Linked DNA regions of Homo sapiens: region 1 is linked to region 2. Evidence: promoter capture Hi-C in human tissues and cell types (Jung and others, 2019). All regions are on one chromosome and are shown on one strand. Each heading gives the region's core, a stretch centred on a gene start or on the middle of the fragment in contact. The rest is flanking DNA. Distances are from core to core; before and after follow the strand shown.

What was found. Contacts are between HindIII fragments. The study calls those that stand out against the background at their distance.
Region 1: a fragment that was not itself captured here is called in contact with the fragment with the promoter of CMTR2 in region 2 in 2 of the 25 tissues and cell types used here (mesenchymal stem cells and thymus).

The regions. Positions count from the first base shown.
Region 1 is chr16:70,870,167-70,876,843 of GRCh38, forward strand. HYDIN (HYDIN axonemal central pair apparatus protein) reads right to left here. Exons shown (of 86, transcript NM_001270974.2): 63 at 4,651-4,753; 64 at 4,139-4,426; 65 at 1,871-2,013. Among named protein-coding and RNA genes, the nearest start is that of VAC14, 72 kb to the left of the region's middle. The HindIII fragment of the contact is 3,204 bases long and covers 2,344-5,547 here.
Region 2 is chr16:71,285,596-71,292,159 of GRCh38, forward strand. CMTR2 (cap methyltransferase 2) reads right to left here and starts at 3,807. Exons shown (of 3, transcript NM_018348.6): 1 at 3,541-3,807; 2 at 3,283-3,342; 3 at 1-344. The coding sequence starts at 325. It overlaps LOC102723786 (a long non-coding RNA gene), which reads left to right and starts at 3,205. Exons shown (of 4, transcript XR_933707.3): 1 at 3,205-3,360. RefSeq lists silencers at 3,560-3,929, 4,010-4,079. The HindIII fragment of the contact is 7,661 bases long and covers 1-6,564 here.

The sequences.
Region 1 (6,677 bases), core at 2,696-5,195, 420 kb before region 2:
AAAGCATTCAGTTTTAAAAGGGAAACAGAGCATAAAAGTTCAGAAAACTTTCAGCCTGATGATAGAAAAGAAAAACCCATTTTCTGAGGAGAAATTCAAGAGGGCTTCAGAAGTTTGCAAAAGTAGTGAGGAGCCAAATGTTAATGGCCAAAACAATGGGGAAAATGTCTCTAGGGCATGTCAGAGACCTTTGTGGCAGCCCCTCCCATCACAGACCCAGAGGCCTGGGAGGAAAAAATGGTTTTGTGGGTGGCCCAGGGACCCCCCTGCTGTGTGCAGCCTAAGGATGTAGAGCTCTGCATCCCAGCCACTCTGGTCATGGCTAAAAGGGGCCAAGGTGTGGCTCAGGACATGGCTGCAGAGGGTGCAAGCCCCAAGACTTGGCAGCTTCCATGTGGTGTTGAGCCTGTGGGTGCACAGAAGTCAAGAATTGAGGTTGGGAACCTCCACTGTGCCCAGCCTCTCTGCCTCCTTTGATTAAGGCTTTGGTAATAAAAATAATGCACAAAAGCAGATTACCCTATTATATTATACTGTGTTTGTTTCTTCACAGGCAAAATGCAGATAATAGTAGTATCTATGGCTGGGCACAGTGGCTCATGCCTATAATCCCAGCATTTTGGGAGGCCGAGGCAGGTGGATTGCTTGAGCTCAGGAGTTTGAGACCAGACTGGACAACACGGTGAAACCTGTCTCTGCCAAAAATACAAAAAAATTAGCCAGGTGTGGTGGTGTGCATCTGTTGTCCCAGCTACTTGGGGGGCTGAGGTGGGAGAATCACTTGATCTTGGGAAGTGGAGGTTGCAATGAGCCAAGATTGTAACACTGCACTCCAGCCTGGGTGACCGAGTGAGACTATCTCAACAAACAAACAAAAACAAAAAAAAGTAGTATCTGCCTTATAGCATTGTTCAGAGGATTAACCATGGTCTTAGAACTATTTTTGGCATATAGTAAGCACTCAATTTACAAATAAAGTGGTATACCAGCTCTATTCAGGGTTGGATTTGGACCATGACGAAACGGAATGGTCAGGGTCCTAATGAACTTTACATCACTCCAAAAAGCAAAATTTATCCCTAATAGCGCTCAAAGATTTAAAGATGACAAAGTCCCCAACGCCTTTGCTCCATCCCCCTCGAGTACTGTGCTTGAGCAGACTCACTGGCTGTGTGTCAACAGAGCAGGAGGCAGTGAAGACACTGGGGTGTGCCAGTGCTCTGGGAACTCAGAAATGAACTATCTACAAAAAGCAACCACTGGCCAGAGGCAACGATCTTCTAGAACGTTATCCTAGGCCTTGTTCAATGTCAAGCTTTAGTCAGCAATTCAAAAAAAAAATGTGTGTTGTGGAGATGCTAAAAGAAGAGGTTAGAAAATTCCAGGTAAAACAAAGTTAACAAGGTTTTAACATGCCAAAGAGAACCAGGAATATTTAAGGAAGGATGGAGCTTGGAACATTTTCTAAATCTCACTTGTCCACAGAACCCATCACCCCCATTCTAGCTTTTGGTGAAGCATTTTGAAGGACTGATACTCTAAAGGACACACACCTAGGAGGACACAGCTCTACAATCTGGGATAGGAAGACTAGGACCTGTATTCATCTATACAGGCCTCCACAGGGCCCGTTGACAGCAGCCTAGCAACAGTTTTGGTCAACTTCATTCTCCGTCTTCCCCTCTTAACCAGGAGAGACATGAACAGTGTTCTTTGCTACTAGGTATGAGTGAGGGATGATTCCTGGGCTGTCTCTCAGCTTGAGATGCATTAATTCCATTCCATGCATCCACGGGAAAGGGCTGACAATCAGTCTGGGGTTGGCTTAGGACTAAGGGATTCCAAAAAATGATGAATGACTTTTATTTACCTGTGGGGAGAAAGCAATTGTAGCTGAAACAGGCCATTCAAACCGTATCAAGTTCACTTGGCTGTGATTTGTGACTGTGAAGCTCGCATTATAGCTGTGTCCAATGTGGCAGTCCCCAAATTGGATGTGGTCCACCAGAGCAGCTAGGGATTAGAAGCAGAAGGCTGTGAGTCCTCCCTGGCCTCCCCTGAGGGCCTGCTGCCTTAAGGAGGCATAGTGCTTCACTCACATGCAGTCCTTCCATCCTTGGATGGCTATATTTGAGAAACCTAGAATCTCTGAGTAACAAGATTTCTATCCTCAAGGAATCTATCTATCCACCCATCCATCCATCTATCCATCCATCCATCCATCCATCCATCCATCCATCCATCCATCATCCACCCACCCATCATCTACCCATCCATCATCTATCCATCCATCCCTCTCATCCATCCATTATCCACCCATCCATCATCCACCTATCCATCACTCACCTATCCATCCATCCATCCATCATCCATTCATCCATCCACCATCCACCCTCCCCCATCCTGCCATCATCATCCATCCACCCACCCATCCAGCCATCATCCACCCACCCACCCATCATCCATCCACCCTCGCATCCATCCATCATCCACCCATCCACCATCCACCTATCCACCCATCCATCATCTCCCTACCCACCCATCCATCCATCCATCCATCCATTATCCACCCTCCCATCCATCCATCATCCACCTGCTCACCCACTCATCCATCCATCATCCACCCATCCATCATCCATCCATCCATGCAGCCATCCATCCATATATCCATCCATCATCCACCCACCCATCCATCCATCCATCATCCACCCATCCATCCATTAATTCATCTATCATCTACCTACCCACTCACCCATCATCCACCTACCCACTCACCTATCTACCCATCATCATCCACCCATCCATCCATCATCTACTCATCCATGCATGCATGCATGTATCCATCCACCCATTCATCTATCATCTACCCATCCATCCCTCTATCCCTTCATCCATCCATCCATCATCCATTCACCCACCTTAGCCCTCACCTCCATTTGTACAAGAGAAAACATAGGTCCCCAACTCCATTTGTTTGGTGAGAAAATATTATAAAGGATTGGGATTGCCAGATAAAATATAGGAGTCCTGGTTAAATTTGAATTACAGATAAGAAATGAATAATTTTTAGGATAAGTATGTCCCATGCCATGTTTGGGATATACATATACTAAAAATTATTCATAGTTTAACCAAAATTCCAATTTATTGAGGAGTCTTGTATTCTGATTTGCTAACTCTGGCAATCCTATTATGGGCATGAAATCTGAGTTCTGAACTTAGATTCACTGCTGGCTCCTGCTTGAGCCTTGGTAAGAGAGATGTCACCCTGTAGCCTCAAACAGGGCTGAAACACCAGGTATATGAGGAGTGTTGATTTCAACCCATGTTGTGTAGACCACCTAACGGTACATTCCAGGACTTTAATTAAGCTTCTAGGTAAACTATGGGACTCTGTTTATAACTCACTTTTTAGCAACCAACCACATAATTAGGGCGCTTAACCAATGCCTTCTGATGATAACAATTTGATGATAAATTTTTCCAATCCCCAAAAATGTCAACTAAATGAAGCTTTAGTGCTTGATAGATTGCAGCACAACATGTCTTAAGCTTTAGTATAAAAACACGTCACCTGGGGCCTTGTTAAAATGTGGATTCTGATTCAGTAGGGCAGGGGGGTCTGAAACCCCCATTTCTAACAAGCTCCCAGGTGATGCTGATGCCATAGGATCTCAAACTGCTCATTGAGTAGTGGGGCTGTGCAGAGTGATGTTCTAGAAGTGCCCAAACCTATACTCTCTCTAATAAACAGACAATGCCAACACAAGCCAGCTAATAAATGCAGACAGGAAAAACTGCAAGGCATTTATTTGCTTATTAGTTGAACCAGAATTTGAATATCAAACTATAAGCTCCTTAAGAGTAGAGACTTCCTTGTTAATTTTGAAACTCCAGGGATCAGCATGCCTGGAACATGTACTTGGTGATCAATACATATTCATCGAGTGAACACATGAATAAATGGAAGGATGGATGCCATGACTGAGCCAGGCATGCCAGAGCATAGAGTAATGAAGAGGAGAGTCAGTCCTAAATTCTCAGGGAGGTAACCAACCTGTTATTTAAATTTACTCTCATTTAAAACAAATGACCCAGTAGCCAACACTTGCCAACACTTCACTGCTGTTTCTCCCACCTGCCACCAAGTCTTCCATATCATTGTCCTCGATGATCTCTGTGAACTCAGAGATACTTATGTCTTCCTGGCTGGTGGGGGCCACCAGTCCATGGATGTTGTCCAAGGTGATGTCATCCTCATAGCCCTCTCCCACCATGTGGATGGAGGTCTCCTCATATTGGTTGTTGATCACTGACAAGTGGATGATACCTCTCATCCTCCCAACCTTCTGGGAGTGGAAAACGACATCAAATTCAGCTGTATCTCCAGGAGAAACAACCAAGGAGGCTGTGTGAGCTTTCTTTGCTGCAAAGAGAAGAGAGAAGATATGATTTAGAACTAGTTTCAAGAAATGTGTATCTATAAAGACCCCTGTTGAAGGGAAAGTAACCCTAGAATGGGAACGAGCCTTAGCTAGAGGCCAGTGGTGACGAGACTGGGCATTCCCCTCTGGCTGGGCCTTGAGTGGTCCCCTAATGAAGCAGCTACTGAGATCCATTGCCCTCTAGAAGCACCCTCCCCACACTTACCTTTTACATGTGGTTTATTTTCCTCTGTGATGTAGATATACGCGGTGGTGGGCCTCCCTTTCAGGGAGAAGACTCCTAGCTCATCCTGCAGGTCAACATGCAGCTGGCAGAAGGAAAGCAGGGATGAGTGCTAGGCTTACAGGCTGCTCATGGGCTTTGAGTCTGGGGTGAGATACTGTGCTGTGTTTGGGGCAGGACCCCAAAAAGGTATTATGCCTAGTATTCACTTTTTTGAATTTCTTAAGAGAGATAAATAATAAATATTAGACCTGGAGAGGACAGAAGAACATTCAGTCAGATCAGCCCTTGTTATCTGAGTGAGGAACTGGAGGTCCAAGGAGTATGCAGAACTTTCCAGATCACGTAGGTAGTGTCAAAATGTGGTTGCCAACACCTCTGTCATTAACAGAGGCAGTTATAAAATATACGCTAGGCCAATAAAATGCAAATGAATACTTGTAATTCTATAAGGGCCTGCATTGATGTCAATTCCTAAAAACCAGTATCTCCTAGGTGCTATGCATTAGTTTAGTTGCCTGATAGTGTCATGTTGAGCATCCTACCACGATAAGAGAAAAAACAAGGTGGGCATTTGACCTACTTGGAGAAAGTGGTGGTTTCTGGCCCATTATAAGGAAGATAAGACTAAAGCCATACATCTGATTTCGGATATGAGACATCAGCAGGCATTGTTAGAAGACAGTAATGCTGGCACCATCATGAAAAAGATTGAATAATACAAAATATGAGGCATGGAGAAGGCAGAAATAGTGATATCACACGGGAAGCTTCTGAGATAAAAAATTATGTATTTAGAAACAACTTTAATAAGAAACTATATGGAAGAATTATATGTAAGAATATTGACATAAAAGATCTAAATAAATGGGTGGAAATCCTAAATGTTCCTGGTGGAGAGTCTAAATACTCCGCAAGCAGAAATCCTACCAGATTCAGAGGCTTCCCGATGGGATTTTTAAAGGAACGTTATAAAATAATTATAAAGCTTATTTGAGAGATTAATAGGTGAAAATTGTTAAGAAAAATGGCAAAAACAGGGAATGGGTGGATAGGAATTCACTGAACTAGATGCTAAAACATATTATAAAGCCACAATAATGGAAACGATGCAGGGTAATGGTAAACTAGGTAACCTGAGCTCAAGGCAACAACAATTGCTAGACTAAATATATATAAAAAAATTTTTTTTAAAGCATAACAGAGCTACGAAGAGAATGAGGAGTAAATAGACCAGGATCTGTGAGAGTATAGAAATCCAGCAAGGTCAGTCTCACTTTCTGGGCAGTTTTTGTCCGCCCAGAGCATTTGCCAGTCAGGAAAAGGTAGACAGGAGGCTTGTCTGCACATTTTTTTTTTTTTTAATTTTGATACGGAATCTCACTCTGTCACCCAGGCCGGAGCGCAGTGGTGAAATCTTGGCTCACTGCAACCTTTGTCTCCCGGGTTCTGGCGATTCTCCTGCCTCAGCCTCCAGAGTAGCTAGGATTACAGGCGCGAGTCACCATGCCCAGCTAATTTTTGTATGTTTTTAGTAAAGATGGGATTTTACCAGGTTGTCCAGGCTGGTCTCAAAATCCTGATCTGCCCACCTCAGCCTCTCAAGTTGCTGGGATTACAGGCGTTGTCTGTACTTTTTATGGTCTTTTGGTGCTAAGAGGGCAAAAGTTCAAGGCCTGTGGAAGGTGACAATGCTTTCTTCTGGGCTGGGACCTCAAAAGATGAAAGGTGAGCTGGATATAAACCAGCTTTCCCAAGGGTGGCAATCCTGCTCTGAGTCATCTGGGTAATCCAGAAAATCTCAAACCCTAACACTGGCTTAAAGTGATCCTGAATTTCTAGTGCCCCCAAGTGTTGGGCAGAAGCAAATGAAAATTGCCTCTGAAGAAAAATATGATCCTTAGTTTAATGATTTCTAAATAACTTTTACAATATAATACCCAACACATGAACAGAAGATAACCAGGCACATGAGGAGGCAGGGCAACATGGGCAAAGATGAGTAGAAA
Region 2 (6,564 bases), core at 2,557-5,056:
CAGCATTCACAGATTTTCTAACATGAGAAATGATTTTCCCCGCTTTATTAGTGAAAGCAGTGTGCTCATGCCACTCATCCAGTTTCTTATCACTCAGTAGGTTTTTTACTTCATTTAGGGAGTTCTTCAAATCAAGAAATGCATTAAGTTCAGTGTGGTCACAGGTGAAAATCTCACTGGGATCTGGTAACTGCCACTCATTATTAAGTGGCTTGCCATAAGAAAAGTTCTTGGCAAAGAGTTCAAAAATGTCAGCAAGAATATCTGGGCTGAATGACGCGGGACTTGCTAGCTGCTGAACTGGTGTCTTTCTGCACTTACTCATTTTCAAATCAAATTAAAATCTAGGAAGAGAAAACACATAATTAAATGAATCAAATTTATTAGTGAGCGAAATCTCATGAGCAGCAAATACGATCACACTCATGACAAACTCCATAAAATGGGAAGGCTAAAGTCAGCATACTCTGTTATTTAACCAAGTAATCTGGAATAATGAAAAAGGCTTTGATATCCAAGACCTGGGTTCAAATTCCAGCTCTGCTAATTATGGCTTAATAAGCACCCTTGGGCAAATTCCATCTCTTGGATTTGGTTTCTTCTCATTAAAAAAAAAAGCCTATCATTTTTTAAGAAGAAGATAAAACATACTAGCATATAAAAAACATATAACAAAGCATAATCATCAGTGAATGACAGCTCTGATTATCATAGTAACCCATCTAACTCTTCCCCAAAGTTCTTCCCTACCAATGACTGTGACAACACCTACATGACCTCAAACAAATCCATCCTTAGAGATTCATCCCTGGACATGACCTTTGTTCAAGCTCTAACATGTGACTTTTCGTTTTTTTTTTTTTTAGTTCCCGTCATACTTTACCTCCTTCAGGGAGAGGATCATGTACCTGAACCCAGTACTGATCCTGCCACAAGCCACTTACCTCACTAGTAGGATTGTTGAATACATCCTCTGTCCAGATTTCATTCTCTAAGACAGGCACTTTGGTGGTACCAATCACCTATACAGGTCATCAACTAACGTTCATCATCATACTGCTTGTAAACTGTGCTGTACTTGAGTGGTTAGCCTTTTTCTGCTTGATGCTGAAAGTGACCAACTGTTTACCCGGTATGTCTCAAACTATAGATTCCTGGCTTTCATATGGTTCAGACAGCTCCACACTTCCACCATAACATATCATTATTTCTTCTAGCCACTAAAACTTAACACTTGGATAGCAGAATTTTATACTGAAGAAATATACATATTGAATATACAAATTACAAATAGTCACTCTACATACTCTGGCAGTCAACACTGCCAAAGAAACCAGAAACAAAGAAACCTCTTCCTTCTGAAGAGGAAAAAGGATATGAGAAGTATGGCTTAATGGCATAGTTTTGGAAAAGTTACAAATTCCAGCAGGGAGAGCAATGAATATTACATGGTACCTGTTAGTGCAATGTTAATCAATAGATGCTTTAGTTCACAAATTCTGCACTTATTTAGCATACACAATGCATTCTACAAATGATTTTCAAAAAAATCTGAATTTGTTAAATATGAAAAAATTGGCAATCAAATCATCACTCCAGAAAAGCAGATGTTCAAGGACAAAATGAGAAACAAAGGGAACTACTGCTGTAATACATACAATAATATTCAGATGATGTTTCTTTTAGCATTTACTTTGTACTGTTCTTTTAGCACACTTTTTTCATTCTTTCTTATTTTGTTTAAATTATTTGCAAGTCTACTCTACCAGTTTGTAATTTCCTTGAAGTAACAGGTGTCTTCTTAGTCATTTGTTTGCCACGGTATATTTATATTAAAAAAAAGTTTTTTTTTGAGACAGGGTCTCACTCTGCTACCCAGGCTGGAGTGCAGTGGCACAGGTCATAGCTCCCTGCAGCCTTGACCTCTTCCCAGGCTCAAAGGATCCTCCCACCTCAGCCTCCAAAGGAGTTGGGACTACAGACGTGCACCACCACACCCAGTTAGTTAAAAAAAAAATTGTGGAGATGGGGTCTTGCTCTGTTGCCCAGGCTGGTCTCAAAATCCTGGGCTCAAGCAATCCCTCCAACTCGGCCTTCCAAGGTGCTGGGATTACAGGTGTCAGCCACTATGCCTGTTTTTTGTTTGTTTCTTTTTTACTGGTAGAGCTATATTTAGACAAATTTCTAAAGGAAGACAAAACTGAGGTGTTTCCACATTCACTAAAATCTTAAAATAAGGGCATATAAAAGTTTTTTTCAACAAGCTCCTCTGTCTTAATTCGCATTGTGCTTGCTGGAAACTACAGCCATGTTTAGATCTCATCTATACTCTATTTCGGAAAAAGTCTAATTTTAATCATTAACTTCACATACTAATTAACGGCTGTAGTTAAGCTGTGAAACCTTACCTAAGCTAATAGGAAATTACCTTCACATGAGGACAACTTAAGTGATTCAGACACTCCACCGTTCTGACTATACTTTTGCTGTGTTGCCACCTAATTTTTATTACTACTCCCTTACTCACTACTCCAGCCAAACAGGCCTTTCTGCTGTTCACTGAAGACACCAAGCACATTCCAAGACAAAAGTCTTTCTGCATTGGTGGTCCCTCTGCCTGGAATGCTCTTTCCCCAGCTGTCAGCACAGCTAACTCCTTCACCTCCTTCCAATATTTGCTCAAATGTCATTTTCTCAGTGAAGCCTACCTAAGATTGCATCTTGCATTCCCCATGCCTCTTACCTCGCTGTATTTTTTTCCTATGGTACTCATGTACTTCCAACCTATAACTTCCTTCTTTTTGTTTACTGTTTATTATTTGTCTTCCCCAAACTAGAATGTAAGCTCCACAGGACAGAGATCTTTGTTTTGTTTACACATAGACCATTCCAAGAAGTTGGACATTGCCTGGTACACAGTAAGCACTCAGTATTACTGAATAAATGAGTGGATATCATACTTAGCACAAAAGGGATCTCTCTCTTCAGGTTCTGAATATGAGTCATTAATAGTGCACCTCAACTTCACTCCAGCACTTAAATGCATGACTTAAAAAAAAAAAAAAAAGCATGTGGCTTACAGCGTGTGTGGAAAAATTTTCCAGTATATGATCCTCTGAGCCTTTCATTAAACAGTCCTTTGAGCTTTGTGACATCATAATTCTGCTAAGTGGGTCGCTATTACCATTCTCATATTGCAAACTCAAGTAGGCAGTTATGTAGCCCCCGCCCAAATTAGTGAACCCAAAACAAAACCCACAAGATCTCATCAACAGTTTTTACCTCACAGCTGACACTTATAAAGGAGTTCCAAGTGCTTCCGCCAACTCCTCCTACCAGCAACTGTGAAAACAACGGCCAGTGAGTATCCAGGGCTGACTTTGGGCCGGGCACCCCATATCTCATTTCATCTAGTGAAGTAAGTCCCAAACCCCACTCCAGAGGCCCGGTCCCTGACCTGGAGGAAACTCAGTCCCAGCCCCTGGCTCACCCGCTGGGAAGTCGAAGGAGGGCCCGGAATCGTACCCAGGCCTGGATTACCTTCGCCCACGCCCACTGGGGCCCCAGTGTCTGGAGAGGCTGCACTTTACTCTCTCGAGGAAGCCATTCTGCACTTCCGCTCTCGGGGCTGCTTCCCGGGATGGTCCCTCCCTTTGGGTCCGCGGCGCCTCCAGCCACAAGGCAGGGAGATGGTGCGCCGGACTGGGGGGAAGGCTGTCCGGACCCGCCCTCGCGGCACCGGGAAGCCAGTCCCACCTCCGGGCCCCGCAGCCGCGAATGCCGGCAGACAGGGACCAGGAGGCACTCAAGTCCCACTGCGCACGCGCCCTGTAGGCCGGGCCGGAGTCACGTGCGCCAACGTTACGCACGCCGGCGACTCTCGCCTCGCCTAGGCCTCAGCTCCCTAGGTTTTGCTTCGCGGAGTACAGAAGCTGGGAGGCGCCAGCCTCCCGCCCCCGGCCACTATGGCAACGGAAGCGGCGCGCGCAGGCGGAGCATTCTTTGGCTCCGTCCCGAAGAGGGGTGAAAGGGAGAGGGACAGGGAGGCGAAGGGGAGGGGGAGGGGGAGGGAGGGAAGGGACGGGGCAAACCTGTCTGTCAGGACGTGCTGGTTCCGCTCACTGGCTGCTGGCCCCAAGGGCTTTCAGACTCTTCTGGACAGTTGTTACTTCCTGTACAGACTGGGTTGAAACTGCAGCTCAAAAGACGATAGGTTAAAAGCCAAACTAGGGAACTGCAAGATAAGATTGTTTATATATACATGACATAATATATATTAATTATGTTGCTTAATAAGCCAATAAGAAAAAGGCCAACAACCCCAGAAGGAAAATGAGCAAATATTAGAACAGGCCTCCCAAAAAACAAAAAAGTCAAACAAATAGCCACTAAGGATATACAAAACTGTTTAAACTATTATTAGACAAGAATGGAAATGAAAACAGCAAGTTTTCTTTTTACTCGGTTTAGCAAAGATGTAAAACCTTGGTAATGACCACTGTTGGTGTGACTATGGGGAAACAGGTTTACATCTGTGGATGGAAGAAAAACGTTATTAGAAACCTTACGGAAGGCAAACTTATTTATTTGTTTGTTTACTGAAACAAGGTCTTACCCTCACCCAGGCTGGTGTGCAGTGGCTCGATCTCGGCTCACTGCAGCCTCAACTTCCCCGGGCTCACGCGATCCTCCTAGAGAGATGGCATCTCCCTATCTTAGGCTGGTCTGGAACTCCTGGACTCAAGCGATCCGTTGGTCTCGGCCACCCAAAGTGCTGGGATTACAGGCATGAGCCAAGCCGCCTAGCCCAGAAGGCAAACGTTGAAAAGAGACATGCACTTTGGCTGGGCGCAGTGGCTCACGCCTGTAATCCCAGCATTTTGAGAGGCCGAGGCGAGCGGATCACGAGGTCAAGAGTCCGAGACCAGCCTGACCAACATAGTGAAACCCCGTCTCTACTAATAATGCAAAAAATTAGCCAGGCGTGGTGGCGGGCGCCTGTAATCCTAGCTACTTGGGAGGCTGAGGCAGGAGAATCGCTTGAACCCGGGAGGCGGAGGTTGGAGCGAGCCGAGATCTCACCACTGCACACCAGCCCGGGCGACAGTGCGAGACTCCGTCTCGGGAAAAAAAGAGGACATGCATTTTAACCCAGCAATTCCTCCTCCTCGCAGTTTATCCTTAGGAGATAATTAAACAGCTGGCACTCACTTTGGACAAAATGTTCATTTCAGCATCTCAATAACATAGCCAAATGGAAATACTCTAAATGTCTACTTTAAGAGAATTAATTAAATTATTACAGTACATCTATATAATGCACATATATGCATTATATGCAGCCATTAATAGGCTGTATGTGTCAACAGTATTGCATGAAAATAGAAGAATATTAGAATTATGTGTAGAGTTTTTAACCATTTATGTAAATAGATATATAGACATAAATGTAAAATTCATTTTTTACAAGTCTTCCAGAACATGGACCAATGGAGAAAAGATTATATTTTCACAAAATAGTGGTAGGTCATTTGTGTCTCTCCATGCAAAAAAAATTGTATTTGGACCCTCCTTACATCATAAACAAAAATACATTTCATTTGGATTGTCAGTCTGTATTTTAAAAGTTAATAAGAAAACATAAGAGAACATCTTTGCAACCTTGAAGTAGTCAAAAAGTTTATAACAGGACACAAAATACTAATCATAAAGGAAAAATGTATAAATTGAACTATATTAAAACTAAAAATATTTAGAGCCTGTAGTCCCAGCTCTAGGGAGGCTGAGGCAGGAGGATGGCATGAACCCAGGAGGTGGAACTTGCAGTGAACCGAGATTGCACCACTGCACTCCAGCCTGGGTGACAGAGCGAGACTCCGTCTCACAAAAAAAAAAAAAAAAAAAAAAAAAGAAAGCACGGGCTGGGTGTGGTGGCTTATGCCTGTAATCCCAGCATTCTGGGAGGCCAAGGCGGGCAGACTGCTTGAGTCCAGGAGTTTGAGACCAGCCTAGGCAACATAGTGAAACCCCGTCTCTACTGAAAAACAAAAAATTAACCTGGCATGGTGGTGTGCACCTGTAATCTCAGCTACAAGGGAGGCTGAGGTGGATCACCTGAGCCCAGGAGGTTGAGGATGCAGTGAGCTGAGATCACACCACTGCACTCTAGCCAGTACAACAGAGTGAGACCCTGTCTCAAAATAATAATAAAGTACAGGGATTTATTGCAAAGTGAATAGCATTTATACAAGTAAGTGCTATATTGTGTGGTACAAGTTAAGTGTTGTAGGAGTCTAAAGAATGAAGTTAGTAGGAAAAATATAGGAAAAGACTAGGGAAAAAGAAACTTTAATTTCTGTTCTTTTAAGGGTGAAGTTACGTGGGGAAGGGGAGTGCCAGCCTAGCTCAGGAAAATAATGAGTGAAAAAACAGGCAAGAGGACAGGTAATGTAGATTTGCAGAAAAGGGATGGAAAGTTAATACGTTTAAATGCTAAATAGGTGGCTTAGGTGCTATATATAGTGTCTTAGCTTGGGCTGTGTATTAGTCTGTTCTCATGCTGCT